6 separate regions of the Homo sapiens genome follow, and regions 2, 3, 4, 5 and 6 are each linked to region 1. Evidence: promoter capture Hi-C in 16 types of primary human blood cells and fetal thymus (Javierre and others, 2016). All regions are on one chromosome and are shown on one strand. The core of a region is centred on a gene start or on the middle of the fragment in contact, and the rest is flanking DNA. Distances in the headings are between cores, read along the strand shown.

Region 1 (4,560 bases), core at 1,278-3,777:
CCTGCAGCTGTACATCCCAAACACAGAATCTAAGATTAACGCTGATGAAATGAGTACGGAACAAGGACAACTTTGTGAATTTTTTCTAAAGTTAAAGTATTCAATGGATTGTTTATTGTGAGATTTTGCTTCCTGCTTTTTTGGTGTTAAAATATCCTTTTGTTTATGAAAAGATAGATGAGTAAATGATAGTTTTTAAGAAACATCTCCACCTAGTAAACAGAAAAGTTGGCAGAACTACAGCAGCTGAGTTTTATTTTATATTGTAATGGCTCAATACAAAAATGTCAGGGAAACACTGAATGACCGGAAATCCAAGAAATCCAAAAGGCAAACAAGGCCCTCACTGATTTATTTCCTCTCACTTTCCCAGACGTTTTGCTCCAGCAATATAAGAGTGCAAGGATGTCCAGCATACAACCTACTAATTATTTCCCTTTCCTCATGCTTTCCCATGAATGGAATGACCTCAACAATTTCTTCTCTTCTTCATATACTCATTTTATTGAATACATCCTATGTGCCAAGCACTAGATATAGGGTAGTGAACAAAAGAAAAACATCACTGTTTTCAAGGAACTCATAGTCTAGTGGAGGAAACAGACAACAAATCAAGATAGAATTTAAAAGGCCGATAAGTACGTCTTATGGAGAATGCAATGACGAAGCCCAAAAGTGAAGGCAGGAAGGCTAGTCAGGAGGCTACTAGAGTTCAGGTAAGAGATAACTCTGATTTGGATTAGGGTGGAGGCCTAGAGATATCAAAATGTGGAGCTGACCGGACTTGCTACCAAGCAGACAGTGGCTAAAAGAAATAAACCCCAAATGACTCTGGCACAAGTGTCTCTTGGTACCAACCTGGGCTAGTCTAGTCGGCTAAAGGATAAGAGACCACACGGAGAAAAGTCAAGAGGAGACCATGTGAAAGAATCTTAAACAAGCTTATAGTCTGAGACCCTACCCCCACCCTCCAAACATATGAGGAAGTCCAGCCAAATGAGCAGAGCTTCCCAGCAGATCCATTACTGAACAAGGATGCATCAATGAGCCCAACTAGGACTAGAAGAACCACTCAGCTGACCCGTAGACTTGTGAGCAATAATAACTGCTTCTTGTTTTGAGACACTGAATTTTGGCTTCACTTTCTAATGCACTAACTAAACATGGTGATACCATCTACTGACATGGGGTGACTGGAAGAAACACGGTGGCAAAGAGGAAAAGGAAAAAAATAAAAAGAAAAATCAAGCTTATCCTCTCTCATCCTAGTCAACTCTTAACCTACCCTTCAAAGCTCAACTTAGATATTAACTCCTCCAAGACGCCTTCCCAGATCCCCAGACTAGTTTAGGAAAGATATTCAAGTACTACCATTGTATTTTGTACATATCCCTATCACTGCCTTCCCATATTGTTTTACAATTATCTGTTTACAATTTTCTTCCTAACTAGCTAATAGTCCTCTTTTGTTACGGAAGGTGTCTTGTTCATTTTGATATTATCAGGACGTAACACAAAACAGGTACTCGGTAAATATTTCTGAATTTAATAAATCAATTAGCATAAACTTATTTTATACTTTAATGTCTGTTATTATAATTAACTGTAGATCACTATTTCTCAAAGTGTGATCTCTGAAAACATGCATCAGAATCAGCAGGGGTGTGAATTTTAAAATGCAGATCTCTGGGCTCTATCATAACGAAAATGCCGTTAAGTTGTAAAAACAAGAGTAAGGATATTCTACCAGCTACAGATAAAGCAAGGAGTAGCAGTGTGGGAGTAAATCCACTTTTCCTCACTATCTTCTAGAGATGTTCTCTACCAGAGTTCTTAATGTGCCAGGAACTGAGTAATTAAAAATGCTATGACTGGAATGTAGTTTCTCTTCTAAGAAACGGCTCTCGGTCAGAGGAAACAGGAACTGGGGGTCCTCCAAGGAGGTGTGGTTTCTCAACGCACACGTTCACAAGCGATGCTCCAGGAGGAAGGAATGTTCTCAGCGTCCCCCGAAACAGAAGCCAGGCTGTGGACACACAGCAGCCAGAGCCCCAGGCACTACCCGCACGCCAGCCCTCAGACCTCAGACCTCAGAGGCTGGGCTGCTGACGGAGGGGGCCCAGGGTCCCGTTACCGAAGAGCGCGCGAAGGCGGCTCCCACCGGGTTCTGGGATGGGCATCATTCCCCAGAAGCAGCGGCCTCCGTGAGTCCACGCAAGCCGCCACGGTGGCTTCGCTTGCCAGTCAGAAAGAAAGAAATTGCGGGAAGGGTCAGGCCGGAGGCAGCCGAAAGGGGAAAGGAACGGAGTACGAAGGGCGCCGCCGCTTCCCACCTGCGTCAAGCTCCAGCTGGTAACAAGGCAGCGGCTCAAGAGAGAGCTTGTAACCCTCGAAGCGGGGATCCAACAGAGGTCTCTTCACCCGTAGGGAGCAATTAGCCGCCACCTCCATCGCTTTCCAGGGCCGCAGCGTGAGAATTAATAAAGCCCTTGTTGAAAGGTCCGCGCTTCACGCCTCGCACAGAGACTGGGAAGCGGCGTGGTTCCCATCCCAGAAAACACTGCGGTGCGAACTGCCTTCTGGGAAATGTAGTGTCCGTGAAAAAGTTGAGACTGTTGCATGCTGGGCTATGTAGTTCTCCTGGTACTTAACGCGCGCGCGACGGCAAGGTCTGAACTCTGTTACCCAGAGGCCCTAGCAACCAGGAGGCGGCCCGCGCTGGTTAAATTCTCACATTATAGGCAGGGTGGCGAGACCCCGCCCCGGAAATGCGTGTTCTAGCTTTCTGTGTGCTTAGGTGCCCGAGCTACTGAGGGTCTAAGTCCGGGCAGCCGAAGAGTGTGGTAGGTAACGGTCCTCAGCGCAAGGGTCATTTCGTCGCTGGGAAGGGACGGCCCTCGCCCGCGGTGATGGTGGTGAGCTATGCCCGTGGTCCTCAGGGCCGGGACCCGGGCCCAGCCCAGGCTCCTTTCGATGTACTGTCTTTCGTTAGCGTCCCCGACCCGCGCTCGCGGGCCTGTAGGGCTCTCCGACAGGGCGTGCTACCGGAGTTGGCCTGAAACCAGTCCTCGCTTTGTTTTCTGGCTCCTCCTCTCCCGCCTCTCCCGCTGTCTCCGCCCTGTTCTATTTTCCCTAAGAATGTCTGAACTGGGAGGGATACCCTAGCGCCCTTGTTTTACCAGTGAGAAAACTGAGGCCTTTAAGAATTAAGTGACTTGTCCAAGGTCACTATCCGTATTTTAGGAGCCAAGACGAGATCAAGTTCAATATTCCAGGAGTGGTACTGACTAGACCTTGTAGTTATTTTGAAAATGTTAGCCTCCAATTACAAAAGCAAGCATTTCCTAGTTCTCACTCAACTTCTCCTTTTCCCTGTTCCTCTCAAAAAAGAAAAAAAAAATCAACTCTGGTAACTCATTGCCAGTCTGAATTTTCAATAGGCCAGATGGAAGACAACAAAAGTAATCTCAAGTTAGTGACAGATTAGGTGGGAAAACGTTAGTTTACGCCAAGTTTTATTTAATTTAAACTTTTAAGTGGCTTTAACGCTTTCAAAACCTAACTTTCCTCTTCTTTCAACATCATTTTGGTTTGGGTTGTCTGTTTTTACTGACAATTGAGGACTTTGTAAGTTAGGAATTAGTTTGAGATTTGTTTTCTTCTTATCCCACCAGCAGTGTGTGTGTAAACACACACATCCACACACTTAGGTTTAGCAGTTGTAATTGTGGGTTCATCCTAGTGAAGAGTAAAGCAAAACACTTAGAGCCTTATCTAGTAATTTTATTTTTTTTGATTAATTAATTTTTTTTTTTTTTTTTGAGACAGAGTCTTGCCCTGTCACCCAGGCTGGAGTGCAGCAGCGCAATGTCGGCTCACTGCAACCTCTGTCTCCTGGGTTCAAGCGATTCTCCTGCCTCAGCCTCCTGAGTAGCTGGGATTACAGACACCTGCCACCAAGCCCAGCTTATTTTTCTATTTTTAGTAGAGACGGGGTTTCACCATCTTGGTCAGGCTGGTCTTGAACTCCTGACCTCGTGATCCACCTGCCTGGGCCTCCCAAAGTGCTGGGATTACAGGTGTGACCCACTGTGCCCGGCCTGGTAATTTTATTTTTTTACTAATAGTATTTAATCTTTTTTTGATGTTTAGTATGTATGACTTCTCCCAATTTTTGGATGCAGTCTCTGCAGAAGTGATCGGCAGTTATGTTCAGTTTTGGAGCTCCTAGGGTCAAAGTACTTGAGTTCAAATTTTGCCTTTCCACTTTCTATCTCTGTGCCTCAGTTTCCTCATCAGTAAAATACAGATTATTTTATTAATATAAATATGTAACAATACGTTCTGGGAATTAAATGTGATGTTTAAAAAAAAGCAAACCCACACTGCATTAGCCCAGTGCCAAGCACATAAGTGTTTAATAAAGAGTAATGATATTATTAACACACTTGAAATGTATCACCCCTTCAGTTAATAGAATGGTAAACATGTTAGGATGCCTGCCTAGAGGATTTAGCAGAAAATGCTTTGTAAATGTTCTATATCTGAAAGTACATGTTG
Region 2 (4,560 bases), core at 1,209-3,708, 910 kb before region 1:
CTGGCTTGTTAGATGGCCCTCTTCTGTATTTTCTTTTCTTTTCTTTTTTTTTTTTTGAGACAGAGTCTTGCTCTGTCACCCAGGCTGGAGTGCAGTGGTATGATCTCGGTTCACTGCAAGCTCCGCCTTCTGGGTTCACGCCATTCTCCTGCCTCAGCCTCCCGAGCAGCTGGGACTACAGGCGCCTGCCACCACGCCTGGCTAATTTTTTTGTATTTTTAGTAGAGACGGGGTTTCACCGTGTTTGGCAGGATGGTCTCGAACTCCTGACCTTGTGATCCGCCTGTCTTGGCCTCCCCCTCTTCTGTATTTTCATATGGTGTTACCTCTGTCTGTGCTGTCTGTATTCTAAGCTGCTCTTCTGGTAAGGACACCAATCATACTGGATTAGGGCCAACATGAACCAACTCATTTGAACTTAACCATCTCTTTAAAGGCCCTATGTCTAAATATAGACATATTGTGAGGTACTGAGGGTTAGGACTTTAACATATGAGTTTGGGGGGGACACAGTTCAGCCCATAAATAGGACAGTATAGTTAGTAATAGGGAAAATGCATGACTTGGAAAAGGCCTTAATTACTTTTCTTTACGTAGTCATAGTATTTTAATTAAATAGTAGCTCCATCAAATTAATCCCTTGAAATTCATTTTATTACAATAATTAGAATGTTCATTCTTTATCATTTTAAACAGAATCATCACTCTGTGTTCTTTGAAAAACCAAAAATGGTGGGATAGATTACACATTGCTTTATAATTTACAAGGAGCTTTCCTATTTTTATTCTTTTTTGAGTCTAGCAACCCTGTGAAATTGGTACTAATAAAAATTTAGAAAAATATGGCTAGGTCTAAAACTTTTGTCTTCCTATTCTTCACTCGAATGGCCACTTAAAAGGTCTCCCTGTGTTGTCCAGGCTGGTCTTGAACTCCTGAGCTCAAGTGATCCCTCTGCTTTGGCTTCCCAAAGTGCTGGGATTACAGGCATGAGCCACCAAACCCAGCCTAATTTAATGTTTTATTTTACTTTATCTCTAATTGTGATTGCTTTAGTTTAAATTTTCAGTTTAAATTATGCTATACATAAAAAAGAGAACAGCAGATGGAAATTTATGTGCATCAGAATTTGGGAGACTCAAAAAATCAGCATAAATTGTAAGGGATTTTCAAGAAGACTGACTTAGGCCTAAGCTCATCATTGCACAATGCTTTTTCAAGTACTGTAAACATGGCTGCCTGCATCTATAAAAGGTGGCAGAAGCAGGGTGAAATTAAGGAAAAAGGATAGGCTTATTTTGTAAATAGGACTAAGCTACCTTTCTGACTACTTACATTAGCACATAGTTTATAATCAGACTTTCCTCAGACTCCAATAAAGTTATTTTAAAGCTTTACACAATGTATAAAACTTCAGATGACTCCCAGGAGGATAGTGACTATGGTAAACTAAAATTCTGTACTCACTTTTAATGCTGCAATTAAGGGTAGAGCCACATTTCATAGGATCAGTGGCAAACACATGATATTCCTTCTCCTCTTCTGGGGATGTCCCCAGAGATCCATCACTCAGCTTGATCAAATTAACTGAATCATTGTTCCACTCATTGAGCCAGTGTGTTCACTGCCTAAAAATTCATAACTGTGCCAGCTGTGGCTATCACTATTATGGTGTGTTTTTTCCTGCTGGCTAATCCCATGCTTTTCAGTGAGCAAAACTATAAGATATTGTAATTGAGTTTCTCTTCAATTTAGGAAAATTCTTCATGCTGATTTTTTCATGTTGAAATCACTAAAGTACTATACCTTGGGGATAAATTCATGACCTGGCAAGAATAAGGAACAGAAGCATCTTTAAGAAGGGAATCTAAATTTATACTTCATGAAGTAAGGAAGAAACGTCTGGTTAAACCTGCCTCTATTTCCTCATCCTCCTGAAGCCACCCCCCAAAAAAATTAATAAGTTTACCAATCTTTTTCTATTTCCAGAAAATAATCCATCAATATTGGTAAAATTAATTTTTAAGAAAAAATGCATTTTATCTTGGGACAGCATGTGCCACTGACTTAATTATATTCTTCTTCCTCTACCCCCTTTGTTTTTTTTGGTCTTATATAGTGTATTAGTTTGTTTGGGCAGATGTAACAAAACACCACACACCAGATGGCTTAGATGGAATAAATTCATTTTCTCCCAACTCTGAATACTAGAAACAAGGAATAAAAAAAATATATATAACAAAAATGAAGAAAAAGAAAGACGATGAGAAATTTCAACAAAATTCTGGAGATAGAAAGCTGATGGAGAGTAGTGCCCAGTAAAGGAAGCTATAACCCAGTGCCTATATAGAAAGTTATCTACAAGATATATCCTTCCTTTCCTTTTTCTTTTTAGTCTTATTTGCCCTCCAGACACCCAGAAAGGTTTAAGACATGGAGGCACAAGGTGTTGGGATGTTGGTAGTGAAGTTTGCTGAAAACAAGGAGAATGGTTGAAAGTGGCTAGGTGCCCAGATTTTGTTTCCTGTCTCACAACCCTAAGCTAACTGATTTCTTCCCTGTTTTCTTCTGACTTTTCACTCTGCAGGATACCAATGTCTTAACCTCTAGTTGAATTATTAGGTATGAGAAGCTCTGGAACAGGGGCACTGGTCAGAGTGAAGTATGAGCAGGGAAAAGGGACTGAAGCCAAAGGGATTAAGTCCAAGTTTTCCTAGTGATTATTGGAACACCAGCCCCATTCCTCTACATTGCTCCTGGAACACAAGCACTAAGAGAGAATGTGATGGTTAATACCGAGGTGTCAACTTGATTGGATTGAAGGACGCAAAGTATTGATCCTGGTTGTGCCTGTGAGGGTGTTGCCAAAGGAGATTAACATTTGAGTGAGTGGGCTGGGAAAGGCAGACCCACCCTTCTTAACCTGGGTGGGCACCATCTAATCAGCTGCCAGCGTGGCTAGAATATAAGCAGGCAGAAAAACGTGAAAAGACTAGACTGATCTAGTCTCCTAGTCTACATCTTTCTCCTGTGCTTGATGCTTCCTGTCCTCGAACATCGGACTCCAGGTTTTTCAGTTTTGGGACTCAAACTGGCTCTCCTTGTTCCTCAGCTTGCAGATAGCCTATTGTGGGACCTTATGATCCTGTGAGTTAATATGTAATAAGCTCTCCTTTATAAATATATCTATCCTATTAGTTCTGTCCCTCTAGAAAACCCTGACTAATACAGAGAAGAAGACAATTCTTCTCTGAGGAACCAAATGACCCCCAAAGAAAAGATCTATTCAAATTGATGCTTGGGAGATACTATTTTTTTAAGCAGCTTAATTACCAATCATTATACAGTTGAGGCACCGTGTTCGCAAACATATAGAGCTTCCATACAGCATTTCAGAGTCTTACACTTAAATATGAAATAGCTAAGTATCATAAGACATTTAAGGAAAGTCTTCAATATGAAATACAGACAACTACTGCAAGCATAAAACAACAACAGCATGCTATAAAAACAGAACAGAGAACAAGGAAAGCTTTTGGAAATAAAAAATAGGATAGCCAAAAAAGTAAGTAAATAAATCAATAGGAGATTTAGAAGAGAATGTGAAAAAATTTCCCAGATAGTAGAACAAAACGTAAAAGAGATGGAAAACAAGAGACAGAGAGTAAAGAACTCAGACAATCTAACAAAAAAACCAGCTTTCAAACAAGAAAATGAGGGAGTGAAATCATCAAAGGAATTACACAAGAAAATTTCCTAGAACTAAAATGTCTAGAAAATAGTATAGATTATACAGTGATGGGCTGGAAGAAATATATTAGATTCTAAAATGCAAGATACTTGAACTAGCATGTTAGCCCCATTAAAATATCATAAATATGCATTTCTTGAAAATTGTCATTTCCTTCTAAAGCTGAAAACAATTTTAAATTACAATTATGTTAAATGACACTCATATCTCAGCTTTCCCGCCTAAGGACATTAAGGGAAAAATTCCAAAAAGAAGAGTGGGAGGAAAAACCCTGTGTCTTAGCAGGGTTTATCAGCAGGGATTTTATTGGTTAAAGAGGTTTCATTTTAGGTTATATGTGGCAAAAGACATGAAACAGGAGTGTTTACAATTTCATTTCATTCCAAGTCTTCGTAGAAAAGATAGTTTAGAGTAGGTAAATGCTTATTTTATAAGGGTAGGAAACCATCTGGGCTTTCTGGATATCTGGCTGAAAATTCAAGACAACTGTCTTTAGATTTTACAAATATAAAGTAGGTGGATTAAAGTGTGGATAAAAATATAAAGAATAAAAACTACCTTTGCTTCTTCTGAAATATTATTTCAAATCTACACGAGACTTCTATTTAATAGTCACCAATAAAATATTACACGATTTGCTAGATCATCATGTACCACAGCTGAATGATGAATGGAAAAGAAAATAGAAATCATTCATGAAGTGATGACTTCATTGCAGTGATTATTTTTAAACACTTAAAATTTATTTTAAGTGGTTAAAACATTCATGTTTATTTTTAACCACTTAAAATTTATTTTACTCAGGTAATAT
Region 3 (4,560 bases), core at 1,538-4,037, 890 kb before region 1:
TACTGTCTCCAGGTATTTTTCTAGGCTGGATGTTCCAAGGTTAAAATAACAAAGTTGGTACTCTGAAGCAGCTTAAAGTGGTGTAAAATACAGAAAGTAAGCAAGTAAACAAACAAAAAATCAAATAGTGATAAGTGTCATTATGATGGATAGGCATTACCTAAGGGCTACTTTTTATTGGATGGTCAAGAGAGGTCTATGAGTAGATACACTTAAAACTGAGATATGAATGACAAAAGGAAGATGGTTTCTAGGAAAAGGAAACAGCTGGGCAAATGCCAGATACAAGGCAGATAGGATCTTGGTCTGTTTGAGGAATAGGAAGTAGATGAGAATGGCTGGCGGCTAGTGAGGAGAAATAGAATAGTAGGAGATGAGGTAGGAGAGGTAGACAAATGTCACCTGGTTGAGTAAAGCCTTGTAAACCATGGTAAAGTGTTTGAAGTACATTTTTATTGCCATGGGGAGCCATTTGAGGCCTATTGCCAAGGGACTTCTGCAGTCTGATTTTTTTTTTAAGACCAGTAGGGTTGTTGTATAAAAAAACAGATTTTACACAGCAAGAATGAAACAAAGGTGGCTAGGAAACTATCACAATCATTCAGAAGAGACGTAGTTGTGGCTTAGATTAAGGTAATAGCAATAGATATGAAAAGTAGATGAACTTTGGGAAGTGCAATATAGAATTTGCTGATAGACTAGATATGGGAGGTGGTGCCAAAAAAAGGAATCAAAGGTACTTCCTGTAATTTTAACTTGTGCAATTAGGTAAATGGTTTCCTCACCTATGACAGGGAAAAACAAGGTGGGAATGCGGAAGGTGACAGCAGGAATCCGCAGTTCTGTGTGGGATATGTTAACTTTGAGATGCGTATCAGCTAGCTATCTGAGTACGTCAAGCAACCAGACTGGGTTTTGGGAAGGTTTATCAGTTTGGGACTGATCAGCATATAAACAGTATTTCTAGACATAGGATGGTACCTCCATGAGAGTGCCACGCAGGGGCTTTAGCTGCAGCATCTGTTTTTATCTTGATTAACAACACAAGGTAGCTATTTTCTTTTTACACACATATTATTAGATTTTTATATATGAGCCTTTTTGATGTTTAGAGAGAAATAAGCTGAAAGTCACCCAGCTACTGAAAGGTAGAGCCTGGATTCAGATCTGGGAGTTCTTGTTCTTCCTATTGCACCAGGTTGCTTTACTGGAGCATTAAAATATGTGAATTTCTGAGTATTTTTTAACTTTTTGAATGAAAGATTTTTAAAAAGTCTGTTTAGAAAGAATGCCAGCTCATTCAGAATTGAATCCAAGTATATACATTCACTAGTCTTCTCTGTTGTTAAGTGACTTCTCTGGGGTCTATGGTTTGATGGTTTTTTTCCTTTTTTTAAACAAACAAACAAAAAAACCTCTGCGGTTGACTGGAGCCGACAGGTGAGGAATGGAGAGATGTTGGTCAAATAGTACAAACTTTTGGTTGTAAGATGAATATGTTCTGGAGATCGAATGTACAGCATGGTGACTACAGTTATAATTCTGTATTGTATACTTTGAAGTTTGCTGAGAGATTTTTAAGTGTTCTCAACACACACACACACACACACACACAGGAAATATGTACGGTGATAGATGTGTTAATTAGCTTGCTTGTGGTAATCATTTCACAGTGTATATTTACATCTAATCATTACTTTGTATACCTTAAATATACACAATTTTTGTCCATTACACCTCAATAAAGCTGAGAAAAAAAACCCTCCACTCTTTTGACTTGTGGGATAGTATTATTTCTACTTCTCAAATCAACTGCCCCTTCTTTACTGACCAATAACTTTCGGCTGCATTGCAGTGATTTTTAGTTTTTTCTCAGCTTACATATTTCCTCTACAATCTCATGTCCCCATTGCTTCAAATACTAAATATACGCTTATCATCCTCAAATTTTTTACTTCCTGTCCAGACATTTCTCCTTAAGTCTAGGAGATGACGTCCAAAGTTTCCTAAAAGCAATTAGTCTGGTGGGAAAGGAGGCTCCCCCATCCACCCAGGAGTAATGAGGAGCGAAGTTCAGGAACTGTGAAGGTCTCATTCGTACATTCATTCCTTATAAGTACTTACATACTCGCGACAGTTTGAAACCTAGTGTGGCATGCAGACATGGATGAAGCAATGACAGGCACGACGAGCGTTAATGAAGGGTATAAGCTAGCGCGAGGGCATTCAAGGGAACTTCAGAGCGCAAAGGAAGAATCCCACTTAGTCTCTCAAAACTTTGGAGTTTATCCGTTTAGTCGATTAAAAAGTGAACGGAAAGCAAATCCCATTACGGAAGGAGGAAAGTTGGGGACAAATAAGGGATTCGTGCAGAAGGCTGCACTGCGGCCGGCCATGAAGAGAATAAGGGTACTTAAGGGAGTGTGAAGAGAATGAACAAGCCTAGGTAGAAAAAACTGAAAAGCCAGGATTGACGGACACTAAAAACCCAGCATTTGTTAAAAATCCACGTCAACACACACACACACCTCACCCCGAGCCAGCACCGTAGCCCCGCCAGCAGCCAGGGTATCCTGAGATTGCGGGAGCGCCACGCACCGCCCACCTAGCTCCGTCCACCGTCCAGCTCGCTCCGCCCAGCTCGCTCCGCCCCCTTCCCCGAAAGCCCCTCCGCAGAGCCGCGTGCACGTGCGTGGCGGATACCGCCCCCTCTGCTCTCTTGGCCAATGAGAAAAAGCTACGTAACTCTCCACCGCCCGGTGGCGGGTCACGTGACTGCGTCTCCCCGCCCTCTCACCCCGCTGCCTCTAGGTTCTGGGAAGATGGCGAAGGTCTCAGAGCTTTACGATGTCACTTGGGAAGGTAACTTCGGGTGGGGGCGGGTGCGGAAAGACTAAAAGCGCTGGGAAGCCGTTCGGGAGTACCCGCTGCTTTCGGGGAGCTGGGTTCTCTGGTGTCTTTTTGGTACCAGAGCCCTCACTGTACGGGCCAAGCTGAGGTGGAGGCTGAGGCTGACCCTTCCCTTGGCCCGGACGCGTACTCTGCAGCGTTTCCCACGGTGTCTGCTCCTCGGTTGACCTGCCCTCCTCCGCGCCAGTCCAGCGTCCCGGGGCCGCTTTTATTTATGAGGCGGGCGGGAGGGACTTGGGGCTGGGGTTGTCGCACGCTAACTGGTTGCTGGGCGGTGCGGAAGAGGCGGAATAGGTGGTTACTGAAGCTTCTTTGGAGCCAAGAAACACAGGGCCTGTAAGGCCCTTTACTAAGTGGTGTGTAAGGATTACAGCTCTGTGCAGAAAAGCTGTGTAAAAGATGCGTGAACAAATGTGATTCTCATATGCCACTCTACATTTAGTTTTCTTCTTAAACCCGGGTTTCCAGTTTCTTTTCCTTTTAGTCTAGTCTCTGTCCCACTCCTTCTCAAAACACATTTACACACACAACACAACTTCTTTCTTACTCCCTACTAGTAGTTTCTTTTCTGAAGGGAAAAATAACTAATTAACTCTGGGCTACGTAAGTGCTTACGTGTGATGGTCACTTTTCCCTATCCTTAGTTGATCTAGAGTGGGATATGTTCTTTAAATCTGGGAACAGCCAAACCTTGGATCAATTCTGTGTGCTTAAGAAACTTGAGTTTCATTAAGGCGTGGAATTTGTGTAATTGGAATTCATATTCCCAGCATTTAACATAATACAGGAGACTTCAGTAGCTAATTTGCTTAACGAATGCCTTCTTGGGATGTTTTAATAATGACCTGAAAACATGTGGACCGAAAGTTGTATTTTCTGTTTTATCGTGAATAAATATATCAGTTATTATAAAGTTGTAAATCCGTTACAAATAAAGCAAAATTTCTTTGTACTTGAACTGAATTAAATGATTTATTGACTTTATGGCCTCTAGCACGTTGTGAATCTCAGTATTTATACCTGAATTGAGGGATTCCATTATATTAAACAACAGTGTTGATTTCTTACTGCAAAATCTTGGCTCTGTCAACACACAGTCCCCACTTCCAAGGAAGTCACAATCTAATGGAGAAAACAAACCTGTAAACACACAGTTTTAAAAGGCTTGTGTCAGGGTATCTTCCGTAAGCTGAGTCGTAGATAAATGGATGTTATTTTTAATGCTTTTTAAAAAATGTTTTAAATATTACATAATTTTTAGAAAATGCTATTATGAAGGTATGTTCATTATAGGTTTCCTAGATGATAGTAGCATATATAAAATCCTGAGGGACGAGTAGCTGTATACTACCAACAGACAAGGTGATTTAACTGAGTAATTGGACCTTACCCTGTGGTCATTCTAAAGAGGATTGATGTAATTAATTTGGAATAATAAATAATAACTACTACACAAATTTGTAGGAACAAAGAAAACATTTTAAAGTGCTTTGTAAACTGTTAAGTACTATATAAAAGGATGTGTTACTATTAGCTAGTGCTAATATGATTATGTCCTTCCTCTGTATGATCTGGCGGTTGCCCATGTCTCCAGCTTTATCTTGAGCCCTTCTCCCTCTCACTTTGTGAGCTGCCTATGCTGGCCTTTGT
Region 4 (4,560 bases), core at 813-3,312, 850 kb before region 1:
CTAGTTCAATGTAGTAAAGAGAAGATTACAGATTTGAACCCATGTTGTCTGGGTTCAAATTTTGACTCTGATATAATTATTAGCTATGCAAACTTGGATAAATTACCTAACATCTCTTGCTGTATCTTTTCTTCTGCAAGATGGCCATAATGAAATATTCTGAGAATTAAAGAAATTAAAACATAAGTTATTATGTTTTTCCTTTTCCCTGTCTCTTCAGTGTGACAAGACCCCCTTGAGGTATATTGAGATATAATTTACATGTAATCAAGTGCATATATTTTAAGTATACAGTCTGAGTTTTGACAAATGTGTACATCCCCTTACCAGCCCCCCACTCAAAATAGCATTTCCATCACCCAAGAAACTTTCCTTCTGCCATTTTGCAGTCAACCTCATCCCCCACTGGGAGACAGACAAGCACTGATCTGATTTTTATCACCAAACATTAGTTTTGCTTGTGCTATAACTTTGTATAAATGAGTTCATAGGTTATGTGCTCTTCTGTGTCTGGCTTCTTTCACTCAGCATGTTTTTGAGATTCATTCATTTACAGTCCATTTCATTTTTCCTATTACTTTGTCTACCCATGTATTTTCCACAAATTATGTAAAGGTAAATTTAAGCCCAAGCAAGGTATCTCAGTTATTACAATGCATGAATCACTGACCTCTGAATTTGATAAGCAAGTTTTTATTGTTTGGTTGTTTTTGTGTTTTTTTCTGGTGAGTTTTCTTATAGATCTTACAGAGAATTATGAAAGATTTACTTAAGCAAAATCTAACTGTATGAAAACAAAAATACAGTATTTGTGAATAATGTAAAAGAGTATATAACTTTCAGAGAATGACATTCTTGATAACTAGGTAAATCTTTGGGATCTCAGTGAGAATTTCTTAATCATATCTAGGAATATAAACCGGTATAGAGTATATAATATTTCGTATGGGATTTTTCTACGTATTTATAAATTAGGGAAAATTAGGTTTCAAGAACTGCTTTTCTTTCTTTGTTTCCACTTAATGATGAAACAGAATATGGCTACTATTTGCTCGTCAATTAGGTAATTGGTTTAGCATGTTCAGTAGAAGCAGACACATTTGATTAATGCACATGAAAAACTTTAATGTGAACCTACTCACAATGATTTTCCAGATAAATCCTTCTTTGTTGCACTGGTAAATCTGTGCTAGTGATTTATATGATATTTATGATTGCAGCAGTGATTCTGTTACTATCCTTTTGGGAAACAGAAAATTAAATCATGATTTGAGGGAAAAAATGATTCTGACTTAATCAGTTAAATTGCCATACAATTCTGGAATAGACAGAATAATTGCATGTCAGATTAAATTTGAAGTGATAGATTTGTATTTCCAACTTTCTTTTATTTGTTCTGACACAAGTAAATTTATTTGGTTTATTCTAAATTGCACTGGTTGTGAGTAATGTTGACACCATCTCAGTTGACTCTTTAAAATTAGCTAATTTTAAAAGATCACACTGTATTATTTTTATGTTTAAGTATAAACCAAGAAAAATACTGTATTTAAAAATACATGTTATGGTTTTAGCTCTACATAATTTTTTTTATTTTTACTTTGCTATTTAAAAGCAATTAGAATAAATGTTACGTGGTAATGTTACTATGTGATGTCCTATTCTGTACCCCTCCCCCAACCCATAAAACTTTTTCTCAGAATTAGACCTTTAAGTATCTGATTAGGACCGTTCCTATTTATGTTTCATAAATGGTGGTAAATGAAAAAGCTTTCTGTTTCTGGTAAATCCTTGTGTAAGTGAATTTATTAACTGGATAACAGAAGTAATAAGCATGCCTCACAGCCTTTAGTCCTCAGGGGAAATTATAAAAAGACAAAATTTTAAATGTGATATTGCTGTTACCATATTTAACATATGAATTCCTTAAATTCGTGATGCCTTTTGAAAGGCAAGGTGATCTTGATTTTTATGAGAAGCTTTTTTTCTTTTTCCTCTGGCATTTCCCCTAGAAACATCCTTTATTTACTTTTTCAAATCAGGATTCAGCTACAGAAACTAATCTAATGGTTTAGAGTGTAGGAAGTGAGGGAATCATAATGTTAAGCTGTAGCCAGAGGGGTCAGAGACAGGTTACCAATTCCTGAAGCTTGTTACTTCTATGATGTTACCTGTGTTTGATCACTTAATCTTTCTGAACAGGTCATGAGAAGTTTGCCAAATTAAGTTAATTACAGAAGACAAGAAACACATCATAAATCAAGTACTAAGTGCTTAAGACAGCATTGTTACTTGAAGAAATGATCATTCACTTGAAAATGTATTGAGTGGTTTGATGTTAACTTGAAAACACTAGATGTTGCTAATACCAAGTATTTTAATCATATTTAACCAGGGAGAAAATGGGTAACATATATATATATAAAATATATACATAATATATAATTAATATATATACATATATATAATATATATAGGTAACATATATATATAAAATATATACATAATATATAATTAATATATATACATATATATAATATATATATGTATATATATATACACACACACACACATACACACACAATAAACTTTCTCCCATCTCCATCAAGGAACACTTACTTATCTAGTAAATCTTTTGTTTTAAATCAGACTGATAAATGATGGGAATTGTCAGTCCAGTTAACAAACTCATTTTGAAATCAGCATGTGGTATTCAACAGTGTTTCCCTCCAGCGGTTATGTGTATGATATTGAATTTAATATGCCATGAATTTGCTTTTAAATACACAAATATAGGGTATATTTTGTGTATATATTGATGTATTTATTTTGTTTTCATAGTAAAATCCAATCCCAATTAGTTTTATAATGTAAATAAATTACAATTAATAAAGTAGAAATGCATATTTTAAAACATGTTTACATTGTTTTAATGTGTAGCATAGGTTTTTACTTGACAGCTCTTTGCAGAACCATATCATTTAGTTAACTAATAAATCTGGAAACTTAAAAAAAATTATGAGCTACTTTAAATAATTTTAGAGAGTACTTGCAACTTTAAAATGTTTAGTGAAATAACTTGTATTTGTATTGTACCTTTGTTTGAAATTGTAAAAATCTGTTTAGACATCAGACAAGTGGAAGTGGTTCACACTGCTACACTACATAAATATAAGCTAAATTGCATTTTAAAATTATACTTTTTATTTCATTATTTTGGTCTGAATAAGATAGTTTCAAATACATGATTTTATGGGTTATTATATTATGTAAACACTTAAACTGGCCAAGTGTGCAGTGAACTCTCTGTACACTTCAGCTGAAGGTAAGACCTTAAAGGAAAATGTCCTTAATACTCAAATTTTATTCTTATTGAAAAAGCAAAGAATATATTTGATTTCCTACTAGTGATAAAATAGTCAATGTTAAGTTTCATTAACAGTGTGAAGATTGTCATTTTTAACCTGCCACTGAAATTGAGCCTAATTGAGCTTTTTTTTTTTTTTTTTAATTAGTTTGCAGGTCGAAGTAAGAAGGAAACCAAATATTCTCTTAAGGCTGTCGAAGACATGTTGGAAACATTGCAGATCACCCAGTCTTAAGGTTTCAAAAACTCTTTGACATTAGATTTCACAACTGCACAATTGAACTTATTGGCCTGTAACTTATTTACTAAATGCTCAGTGCTATTTATATACTACAGTAATTTTCTGTTAAGAAGGCAGTTGTAAAGAATGTGTTTATATAAACCTAAAAATGCCTTTTACTGCTAAGTGGGGAGATGGGGGAAATCCATGGAAGAGAGATTTAAGACTTATTGATTGTACATCAGTCTCTTCATATCACATATACATGTATATATATAAAACTCTAATGTAGTATAACCTTGTTAAATAAACCATGATGATTTATTAAACTTGCATATGAAGATTCTAACTTCATTTTGTTATACTCACAGTGGATATATTGTTTAAGAACTCAGTTTCTAGTTAACTCCTTACTGGTGATAGCAAAGTCACAGCATATGTAGCTGACCGAAGCAGATTATTTTGACTTTGTTTATATTGTCGAATTGGATTTTGCTGTACATTCCAGTGGGCTATTTGAATTGTTTTATCTGCTGTAATATCCTTCTGATGAATCTTGCTTAAAATATGTCATTCTCCAAAGTTCAGCAATATTTCTTTGTAAAATTTTTGTTTTGATATAGGACATAATTGAGATTTTTACATATAAAATGCCTTAAGATAAATATGTGTTACGACACTTTAACTTTTATGCAAGTTATATTTATTGAATCCTTTAATAGTAAATTACATGAAAGAATATTAAAGAATCATAAAGAGTAGGGATTAAAGGGGTTGTAGTTATTTTTAATTTTGAAAAAAATAAGAAAATTAAAACTATCCTTAGAAACAAAAATGTTAAAATTTTCCTATTCTATCATTACCTTAGTTAGAATTTTTTATTTTTCTCTTTTCATAATAAACAACCATTATGCTACCTTCAACAGTATTTGACATGTTTCAACAAAATAGAAGAGACTTGAAAGTTAAATTT
Region 5 (4,560 bases), core at 919-3,418, 690 kb after region 1:
TCTCATGGATCCACTGAAGATCTTCTGGTGCATATGACTGGACATGATATTTGTACCTGAATACAAGAAAGTTCGCAAACCAAATACTTATAGCTAGCTGCCAACTTAACTTCGAAGGTTTCATCTTCAGTGATGATACTTTTAATGAAATGTCAATGCTTTGTTTAAAACTGGATGCTTGTATCATCAAACCCAATGCTCATTCAAATATTTGACTTGCAAAAGATGTTGGAGGAATTATTTGCAGCCTCAACGAATAATCATGTATTGGAATTTAGCTTGTAATCATTCTATTTTTCTAGTCATTGGTAACCTCTTCCTGGTCTACAAAACACTGAACCAATTTAGGTGAGGTCTGAACTTCTGCTATTTTAGATATAGCCAGAGTCAGGACATGAATTTCTTTGGGAATTATTTTGGAAAATGTTTGCATGCCTTTGAGGAACAGATTTATTTTAAAATTAGGGTAATATGAAGAGTTGTAACCTATTTCTCAAATCCTCCCCCAAATTTTAATTTTTACCCAACATATGAATTCACGTAATTGAAATAGTTATATAAATCTACATGATTAGATACAAAATACAACATTCCCTGCTACACTCTTTTCCTGAAGGTGATTACACTCACCTCATTTTAATGAGGTTTAAGGCATAAGGTCATTGTGTAAAGTGGCTGCTAGGATTCTTTTGTTATTTACAGGTAGACAAGAGTAAAGGATGGTTTCTAACACATGAAAGTGTGGGTAAACAACCCAAGGGGAGACTAGCGTAAAGATTTATTGTGTCCACTCTACAGTTGTTATGCATTTAGGTTCAAATATTTTACTATTATAAATAATGCTATAATATAATATCCTTGTAAAGAAAACATTGCATATTTGTGTATTAATACATCAACGTTTATGATTAATTTCAGAAATTAAATGCCAATTCAAACAGAATGTATGTTTTCCAATTTTATAGAAAGAAAGTTTAGGCCTGTTTATGTTGTCATCAGTAGTGACTGGGTGTGAATGAGAGTGCTTCTCTGCAAAGTCTCCAAAATTAAGTGTTATCAATTTTTTAAGTCTTTGCCTATCTAACTGGTAAATGTATTTTGATAAGGGTAAAATGTATTTCATTTTAATAAAGTTTATATTAGTGATTAAACATTAGGAAGTTTATGTATTTCAATGCTGAAATAGGGTTTCTCAATAGAAAACTATTTAAAGGCAGTCTAACATCCGTTTAGCTTTCTTGCACCCACACACTAGTGGACTCACCCTACCCTTGTTAAGATTACATTTTAAAAGAAAACCATGACTAATTCCTAATTTGAAAAGCTTACACATTAAACATGCAGTCAACCTCTCTTCTTTCACACTCTTACCTTGCTTTGAATCTGTTATATTTGTTGGATATATATAATTCTCATTAATTTGTTCACTCTTTTTAAGACGGAAATTATATCTCATTAATCTTTTTTTTTAATGAAACATTTTATTCTGGATAATTTTTTTTAACTCCTAGTCATTTCTCTATGTCTAGAAGTTTTAACAAATTATTTTTATAGTTAAAGTTGACAGATATTTTGCTTTGTAATTTTTTCTCATTACTTTTATATACAAAAGTGTTTCTATCTACAGATTAGAGAAATTTCACTTGGTTATTTCTTCTAAATTTTAAGTACTACATTGTAATATATAATTTACCTGCAATTTATGTTTTATAATGTATAATGGGAGTATAATGGGATAAAGGTATCTATTTTGCTTTTGATTTTTTACAGATAGTTGTATCAGTATCATTTTTAAAATAATGCATGCATTCTTCATTTGTTTGTTAGGTCTCAGCAACTATAGGTGGTCTTTCCACAGCACTTAGGCAACTCGCAGGAGGGTAAGCAGATTTTAAAAGCAAGCATCCTGAAAGCAAACATTCTAAAAGGCTCAGGTGGAAGCTGCTTGACTTCATAACTTTGGAAGCCAGGTTAAGGAAATCCCAAATCCCACTTTCACTGCCTTCTATAGGCCAAACAAGTCAGTAATGCCAGGCCAGTCATGAAAGGAACCAAATTAAGCTTTATCTCTCAATATGAAGACTAGAAAATAACTTTTGGCCATTTTTAATTTACCAAACCCTGCACTCTTGCCACATATTGTTTACATTTTCCCCCACATTCTGTGAAGGCTCACCCCTTCCCAAGAGCCTCAGAATGGGATGAGATTCTGATTCATCTTTATATCTTCCCTAAACCCAGTGTCTCAACACAATGCTCAATACACTTTCGTTATGTAAGCTTTTTGCCTATATGGCTCAGGAGAGTAGGCTTTTTTCTTTGAGCAGATCTGGATATTTGGCCTGGGCACTATACCTAGCTCTATGTCAGGCAAGAGCTTTTTCTCTGGACCAGTTTTCCTATACATACAACTGGAAAGTTCAACTAGATAACAACTAAAGGTTTTTTTTTTTTTTTTAATCTAAAATCCTATAATACTTTGCCTTTTTATTACAAGTGAACAATTTCTGTTTATATTATAAAATAGAATTTAAATAATGTTGTCTAATTGCAAAGTTTTACCTAACAAATCTACAGAGTATATTTCCTTTCAAATGCAGTTATTACTTACAAAATGGAAGTTTAGTCATCACCTCTCCACAGTGTGTTAGCCCCATCTAGTGAATGATTAATGAATTCTCAAAAGCCAATAGCATATGAACTTTTTTAAAGCTACTGCTGAATCATATGTCATCTTGTTTCTAGACTTGTAGCAGCCTTTGCTATTTCAGATGTAGCCAAGATTGAAAGAGGAATTGATTGTGAGATTAATTTTAAAAATGTTTGTATGCCTTTGTAGAATAGATTTATTTTAAGAATAGGGTTACATAAAGAGCTATAATTTATTTCTCAAATCCTCCCCCACGTTTTAATTTTTACTCAACATTTAAATGCTTGTAGTTGTAATAGTCAAACAATTCTATATGATTAGATACAGAAAACAGAAATCCATGCCACTCTTTTCCCCTAATTTCTTTCCCTAAAGGCAATTACACTCACTTAATTTTAGTTATTTTAATACTTGCTTCTATGCCTGAAATAACATGCTTATTATTACTCCTTGATGTTTTTCAACTTTAAGCCACAGAGAAGAAGAGGAGTTAATGCTTTTTGTTTTCTTTTCTGAGGATATATCATATATGTGAGTAGAAATTTCGATAACTTTCCTTTCCTGCTCACTTTCCCACCACTCCCCAACCGAAACTGTCATGTTTATCATTTGCTTAGTTTTCAATGTGTTTCTCATTAATCCAGTCTCAAATTGGTTATTCACTAAAACCAAGACTGCAGACACCTCAGGTATTCTATTTGTTCCATCTTTCTGAACAAATCTTTCTCAAAACTTTCTCACTTGCTCCAATGCTAGTTTGCCCTCCTTGCCTGGGACACAGCTGTTATCCTGGATTTGCCTGGGAGGTCTTCTCATCTTCTGCCCATGTTGTTGTGTCTCTTGTTTTCTGTATATGTCTTACTGTCTCTAGGTTTAGAGAGATGAAATGTGCCCTCCAGCAACTTCAAGAGAAAGAATACTTGGGAAATATGTTTTTGAGACTTTGCATCATGGGTACAATGACTTGTTATTCAGCATGAATTCCAAATGTCTTTTAGTGTATGGAAAGCTAAAAATCATATTTTCGAGACTTCCACACAGTGGGGTTCTAAAAGTCCTGTAATTTGTACAAATAAGATACACTTACACAAATTTCAAATTTATTAATGAGGAATCACCAAGCTTTGTTGGAAAGCACCACTGTGGACAGGTGTATTTTGATCATGGAGGCTTCCTGAGTGTGGTAACTTTTGAATAGACGAGGAGGTAGTAGTCCTTTGGTGGCCTGGTTTGTTAGCAAAGCTCACAAAGTCATTCCTGAAAGCCCAACATAAAGTCTGTTTCTTCAGTCATTTGATACCCTGCCATACTAGTTAACACTAACTATGGTTGTCTCTGTTTCCTGCACTGAGCCTTGAATGGGATATCTTACAGGTGCAAGTTTGGTTAGATATAGAATTTTAAATTTAAAATAATTTTTGTGTATATATTTTAGTTTTCTTGCTATGAAATATGAAGCCTTACTAGTCCCTCATCCAATGTATGTGACTTTTTTTTCTCCTTTTGTGGAAGCTTAGGTGAGCTGTTCTTTGTCTTTAGTGATTTGAAAATGAAAGATAAGTTCATTGTAGATTCTGGATATTAGCCCTTTGTCAGATGAGTAGATTGCAAAAATTTTCTCCCATTCTGTAGGTTGCCTGTTCACTCTGATGGTAGTTTCTTTTGCTGTGCAGAAGCTCTTTAGTTTAGTTAGATCCCATTTGTCAATTTTAGCTTTTGTTGCCATTGCTTTTGGTGTTTTAGACATGAAGTCCTTGCCCGTGCCTATGTCCTGAATGGTATTGCCTAGGTTTTCTTCTAGGGTTTTTATGGTTTTAGGTCTAATCCATCTTGAATTAATTTTTGTATAAGGTGTAAGGAAGGGATCCAGTTTCAGCTTTCTACATATGGCTAGCCAGTTTTCCCAGCAC
Region 6 (4,560 bases), core at 810-3,309, 560 kb before region 1:
TATTATGTTTTATCATGATGATCAGTAATCATCTGACAATTGGGCCCAATTCAGTTTTTCATCAGCCGATAATCAACATGAACATATAGGATCCCAAGTACCTACAAAAACTCATATTCTGTAGTTACAAAGAACCTCACTCAAGATAATGGTAGCTGTTATGATGGTATACCAGAAAAGGATTTGTTTTCATTTTTCTCTAACTTTTCTTATTTACGTTCTATCAGAGTCTTGCAAGGCAAACAGTATTATTCTCATTTTACAGATGGAGAAACTTGGATCAGATGTCATTACAAGAGTAGAGGAGCAGGCATTCAAACTTCAGATCATCTGTCTCCATGGTTCTGAAGCCTTTATTATTCGACGTGTTGTGGAGATTATGCAAGATACTGCACATGAACGCAGAATGCCTGGCACATAGTAAGCACTCAAATGTGACTTTCTCTCCGTCCCTGGATCCCTTACTGGAGACTACATAAACTCTATGTTCACTGTTGTGCACATAGAAAGAGTAACTACATTTTCTTTTCAATTCCAAGGAAAAGTGTCAGCATAAGCTTACTTGAGTCTCATTAGGGGTAAGAAGTAGGATGGCTGTGAGTTGATAGTTTTGACATATATTTTGATAAATCACTATATTACCTAAAAGCAAAATAGTGATATGATTTCTTTATAGGAAGGGTTCCTTATTTCTCAGATCACAAGCCTGCTATTTTCTTTAGTTTATAAAATAATAAGCGCAAAATAAAACAGCCAGTATAAATTGATGTTTTTATAAGGGTCATATTCCTTCTAAACTTAATATATAATTTTAGTGAAGGAGTCCCAGATTTTAATTCTTTTCCTACCGCTTATTAGTTATATAACTTTGGCCAGTTATTTGACATTCTCCAGCTTTAGTTTTTCATTTGTAAAATGCAGATAACACTTGCCTTGCAGAGATGCTGTGAGAATTAAATGAGGTGAGGTATAAATTAAATAATACATAGTAAGAACCCAAGAAAGTAAGCACTTCCTCCTGTCCATGAGTTGAAAGGACAAATGTTGGCTTAATCTCCTTTTTTATGATTAAATAATACAATAAAATCATATAGGTAATATATTAAAGTATAATTGTGACAATTTTTTTTTAAGCATTTAATAAAGATCTACTAAATTTGCCTTCTCTGGAGACCTTTAGCATTTTTGGCCCCCAGTATAAATGTATTAATATTAAATTGATCAAGTGATCATTAGAGAAGATGAGAATATTTATGTTCATTGATACATACTCTGCTTGAACAAAACAAAGACCTTAGAAATTCTGGTAGTCATTAGTGTCATTTGCCAAACAGTCCCAATTCTCCTCATTTCAGGGCTCATGATGGAACTGCATTTCCTGGCTTAAGTGGGACTATATGACTAGTCCTGACTAAATACATGTTGACCTGGTGCAGTGTCTCTTTGAGACCTTTCAGACTCTTTTCCCCTCTAGCTTGGCAACCAGGGACATGTAAAAAGGTGGCTGCATCAGACTGGGTCCCCTTGACTGCTGACCTGCAAGGGTCATATAGCGAGAGACTGTGGAAATGTAACAGCATCACTTAGCTTATTCCGAATGATCAGAGGTGGTTAACAAAAGCCAAAAGAACTTCTAGAAAAAAACAGATATCGAAAGAAGTAGACTTTCTTCCTATAAAGGATGTAGATAAGAATCTTGATCCAATTTTTATTCAAAATAGATGGAGCAAGATATGGGGCCTCACTTCCAAATGTCTCTTTAGAGTTTTTGACCTTGACAGCACTTATATATAATAAGGATAAAATTCCAGTTAATAATATAAATTGTGATACATTCTTCAAATGAAAATGGAGATCAAAATTAGATTAAAAGCAGGTGCATAAGTTAATTTGATACTTGTTTCTCACCTAAAAGCTTTCTAGACACTCAGATAAGTGTTTTTAAAAAATATTTATTCATGTATTTTTCCATATCATAAAATGTGTACTCTAATACTGAGTAATTTAGAGAAACCCAAATAACTTGGACTATTTCCTATAAAACAACAAAAAATAAGGCACAGTCTACATTATATAGTGAAATGGTAGCAAGAAGAATGACAAACCTAAATTAGGGGTAAATATTCATTTTAATTTTTTTGGACAAATAATTTCAAATATAATTTTAAAAGACCAAATCAGCATTACAGATTCCAATTTAAATTAAGCTTAATAAACACAATAAAGCCTTTGAATAGTTTTATTTTAAAATGATATGACACACTTGCTATTAACATATAAGGCATCAAGTGCCCTAAGAAAGAGCTCATAACCTTAATAATTGCCCTTGAAAATATCAAAAAGCACATAATCAATGTCAAATTATTTTTGTTTGGCAAGAAAAGTAAAATTAACAGCACGATGAGAACCACAGGGTACAAACTCTCAATACACAATATGTAATAATTAATCTTTCTTTCTTATATGACATTTGTTTGGAGCCTGGCTAGGAAGCCTGAAGATGGCAGTGAAAAAATAGGGAGAGCTGTTCCTGAAACACAGGAGAGTTACCCAAATTTGAAACAAAGGAATATACTCCCCATAGTCCCCTGAAATAAAATAACAATTCACGGTAAAATAATTTCCAAATATCTCACACTCTCATGAGCCTGAAATTGAGAGGTTAAAAAACAAATTAATAAATATTTGTGGGAGGCTGAACAACCAAAACAGGTTTATAATAATTATGGCATCTCATTCTGAGGCTGATTCCAAATTCTTCATTCATGACTTGTGAAAGACTTCTCTTCTTCTTAATGTCAATAGTAAGGCATGCCAAATTCCTATAATAAAATTATTCTAACAATAACTTTGGATATTAAAGCTGTATAACTATAAAATATAGTCCAAATGCACATAGACTTGAGTGCACATAAATCTGCACACAAACATAAACCACGAGTACACTCTTGAGTGTAAGCCACAGATTCTTGAAATTAGTTTTATGTGTTTAAAATAACGTCTTGCTTTTTACAGTGTCAATTCACTAGGCAGGCAAATTATTTCCCAAGACTTATAAAATTTGTGAGATGATAATATAGAATATTATGAACCAAAAACAGATATAGCTAAAAATCAGCCAAAAGGAAATGATATGTTAATTCTCTTTCTTAAGTACTCTTTTTAGACTAGGAAAAGCCAGTAAGACTTCATTATAATCTTCTCATCGTAGTCATTCTTTATGTCCAATTCTGGGAAAGGTTAAACCCATTACAGAGAACAGTAAGTATTGATAGTATTACATCTTGCTGTAATAGGTGAACCACTGGCAAAGGTTGTGAATCTTTTTTGTCAGACCACGTTTTTTTGATGGCATTAATTGCTGCAATGAAATCTGACCTTCAGGTTGAAAAACCTTCTCCTAAGAGATATACATATAGAACACTTTTTTAACTTGACAATTAATCCAAGTAAAATTTTGCATACACCTATCATTGCACACGTGAAAGATGAAGACCAAAATGTTCACATGCTCCTGCCTAGAATTTTTGCTTGTCAGAAGGTGGTAAAAAAAAATAGAGCCATTGGGTTCAGGCTTTTAATTCTCAATATTTAACTAGCATGGTGCTCAGTCACTCATTTATCAAGATTAAGTCACCCCTTATACTGGGGGGACTGAGGTAAAGGCACACATAAGTTTGGCAGCGCAGTCTCTTTTCAGAAATTGTACCTTGAAGGGCATGTGCCAGCACTGGTCCAATTGGGTCCCTAAAACAAATAAGTATGAGGGGGATGAACTCATATTTTAAGCAGACAGCAAAGCATGTGATGATATCAAGGCAAGTAACTTGATAGAACAGAATCAAGGGTTATAGCAGTCATGTGGGTAAAAGCAACCATGGCCTCCAAGAACTTCATGGTTCCAAGCAGTCTTGTCTTCCTGTAAACTATAAATCACCTACACAGTGGGGAGCATGACGAAAAGCTGTTCTTTATATGAGGGGCCAGTACATCTTATTATGTGATCTGCTTTAAGAGCTCCCAATGGGTGGGAAGGACACACAGCGCTGCAAAGAAAACTCTTTGCAAACTCTACCACTAACAGTTTAAGGTGCCCTAAAAAGAACTGGCTTATAAAGATATTAGGAGCCTTAAATCATCCACCAGCAGCGTGTAGATCCCAGTAATAAAGGAGAAAGACAGCTTTCTTTCTGTAACTCACCCCATTGGGCCACACTGCTGAAAGACGAGCTGTCTTCTCATTGAGACTAGGAAGATGACTCTTGAGTTTAGATTTCTAAAACCATGTAAATAAGCTAAAGACCTAGAACCACTGAAATATGTTTTTCTTCTCTAGGACTAGCAATAAAAACTTTCACAGGTAACAACCAGCACCATATTGAAGAGACAGACGGAAGGTCACAAATCTCCATGAAGGATGCAAGACCAAAACTATAGGTATTGTATGCCCAATGTCTATAGAATGCATCACCTGGTCTTGCCAAAGTACCTCTAGAGCCAAAAACACTCTTTGTCAGATTGGGAAAAACAGGAAATAAAGCACATGGCTTTTCTTTGCCT

The links. Contacts are between HindIII fragments. The CHiCAGO score rates a contact against its expected background, and 5 or more counts as called.
Region 2: a fragment that was not itself captured here is called in contact with the fragment with the promoter of NUDCD1 in region 1 in 6 of 17 cell types (total CD4 T cells, naive CD8 T cells, total CD8 T cells and 3 more); the score reaches 8.9 in total CD4 T cells.
Region 3: a contact is called between the fragment with the promoter of EMC2 here and the fragment with the promoter of NUDCD1 in region 1, in 10 of 17 cell types (naive CD4 T cells, total CD8 T cells, non-activated CD4 T cells and 7 more). The highest score is 32.7, in naive CD4 T cells.
Region 4: a fragment that was not itself captured here is called in contact with the fragment with the promoter of NUDCD1 in region 1 in 2 of 17 cell types (total CD8 T cells and non-activated CD4 T cells); the score reaches 5.8 in total CD8 T cells.
Region 5: a fragment that was not itself captured here is called in contact with the fragment with the promoter of NUDCD1 in region 1 in 1 of 17 cell types (M1 macrophages); the score reaches 5.1 in M1 macrophages.
Region 6: a contact is called between a fragment that was not itself captured here and the fragment with the promoter of NUDCD1 in region 1, in 1 of 17 cell types (fetal thymus). The highest score is 6.8, in fetal thymus.

Annotation. Positions count from the first base shown.
Region 1 is chr8:109,331,560-109,336,119 of GRCh38, forward strand. It overlaps NUDCD1 (NudC domain containing 1), which reads right to left and starts at 2,528. Exons shown (of 10, transcript NM_032869.4): 1 at 2,334-2,528. The coding sequence starts at 2,451. It overlaps ENY2 (ENY2 transcription and export complex 2 subunit), which reads left to right and starts at 2,788. Exons shown (of 5, transcript NM_020189.6): 1 at 2,788-2,915. The coding sequence starts at 2,910. RefSeq lists enhancers at 2,220-2,269, 2,400-2,449, 2,632-3,554, 2,820-3,069. The HindIII fragment of the contact is 6,990 bases long and covers 1,248-4,560 here.
Region 2 is chr8:108,424,514-108,429,073 of GRCh38, forward strand. The region is part of intron 1 of LOC105375704 (a long non-coding RNA gene); the gene reads right to left. Among named protein-coding and RNA genes, the nearest start is that of EMC2, 17 kb to the right of the region's middle. The HindIII fragment of the contact is 2,140 bases long and covers 1,389-3,528 here.
Region 3 is chr8:108,440,837-108,445,396 of GRCh38, forward strand. EMC2 (ER membrane protein complex subunit 2) reads left to right here and starts at 2,788. Exons shown (of 11, transcript NM_014673.5): 1 at 2,788-2,862. The coding sequence starts at 2,823. LOC105375704 (a long non-coding RNA gene) reads right to left here and starts at 2,636. Exons shown (of 3, transcript XR_928530.4): 1 at 2,534-2,636. RefSeq lists a silencer at 2,622-2,741. The HindIII fragment of the contact is 5,303 bases long and covers 1-3,215 here.
Region 4 is chr8:108,482,997-108,487,556 of GRCh38, forward strand. It overlaps EMC2 (ER membrane protein complex subunit 2), which reads left to right. Exons shown (of 11, transcript NM_014673.5): 11 at 3,516-4,560. The coding sequence ends at 3,602. Among named protein-coding and RNA genes, the nearest start is that of EMC2, 42 kb to the left of the region's middle. The HindIII fragment of the contact is 170 bases long and covers 1,978-2,147 here.
Region 5 is chr8:110,024,008-110,028,567 of GRCh38, forward strand. No RefSeq gene overlaps it. Among named protein-coding and RNA genes, the nearest start is that of KCNV1, 51 kb to the left of the region's middle. The HindIII fragment of the contact is 219 bases long and covers 2,060-2,278 here.
Region 6 is chr8:108,776,864-108,781,423 of GRCh38, forward strand. TMEM74 (transmembrane protein 74) reads right to left here. Exons shown (of 2, transcript NM_153015.3): 2 at 2,111-4,560. Among named protein-coding and RNA genes, the nearest start is that of TMEM74, 8.4 kb to the right of the region's middle. The HindIII fragment of the contact is 292 bases long and covers 1,914-2,205 here.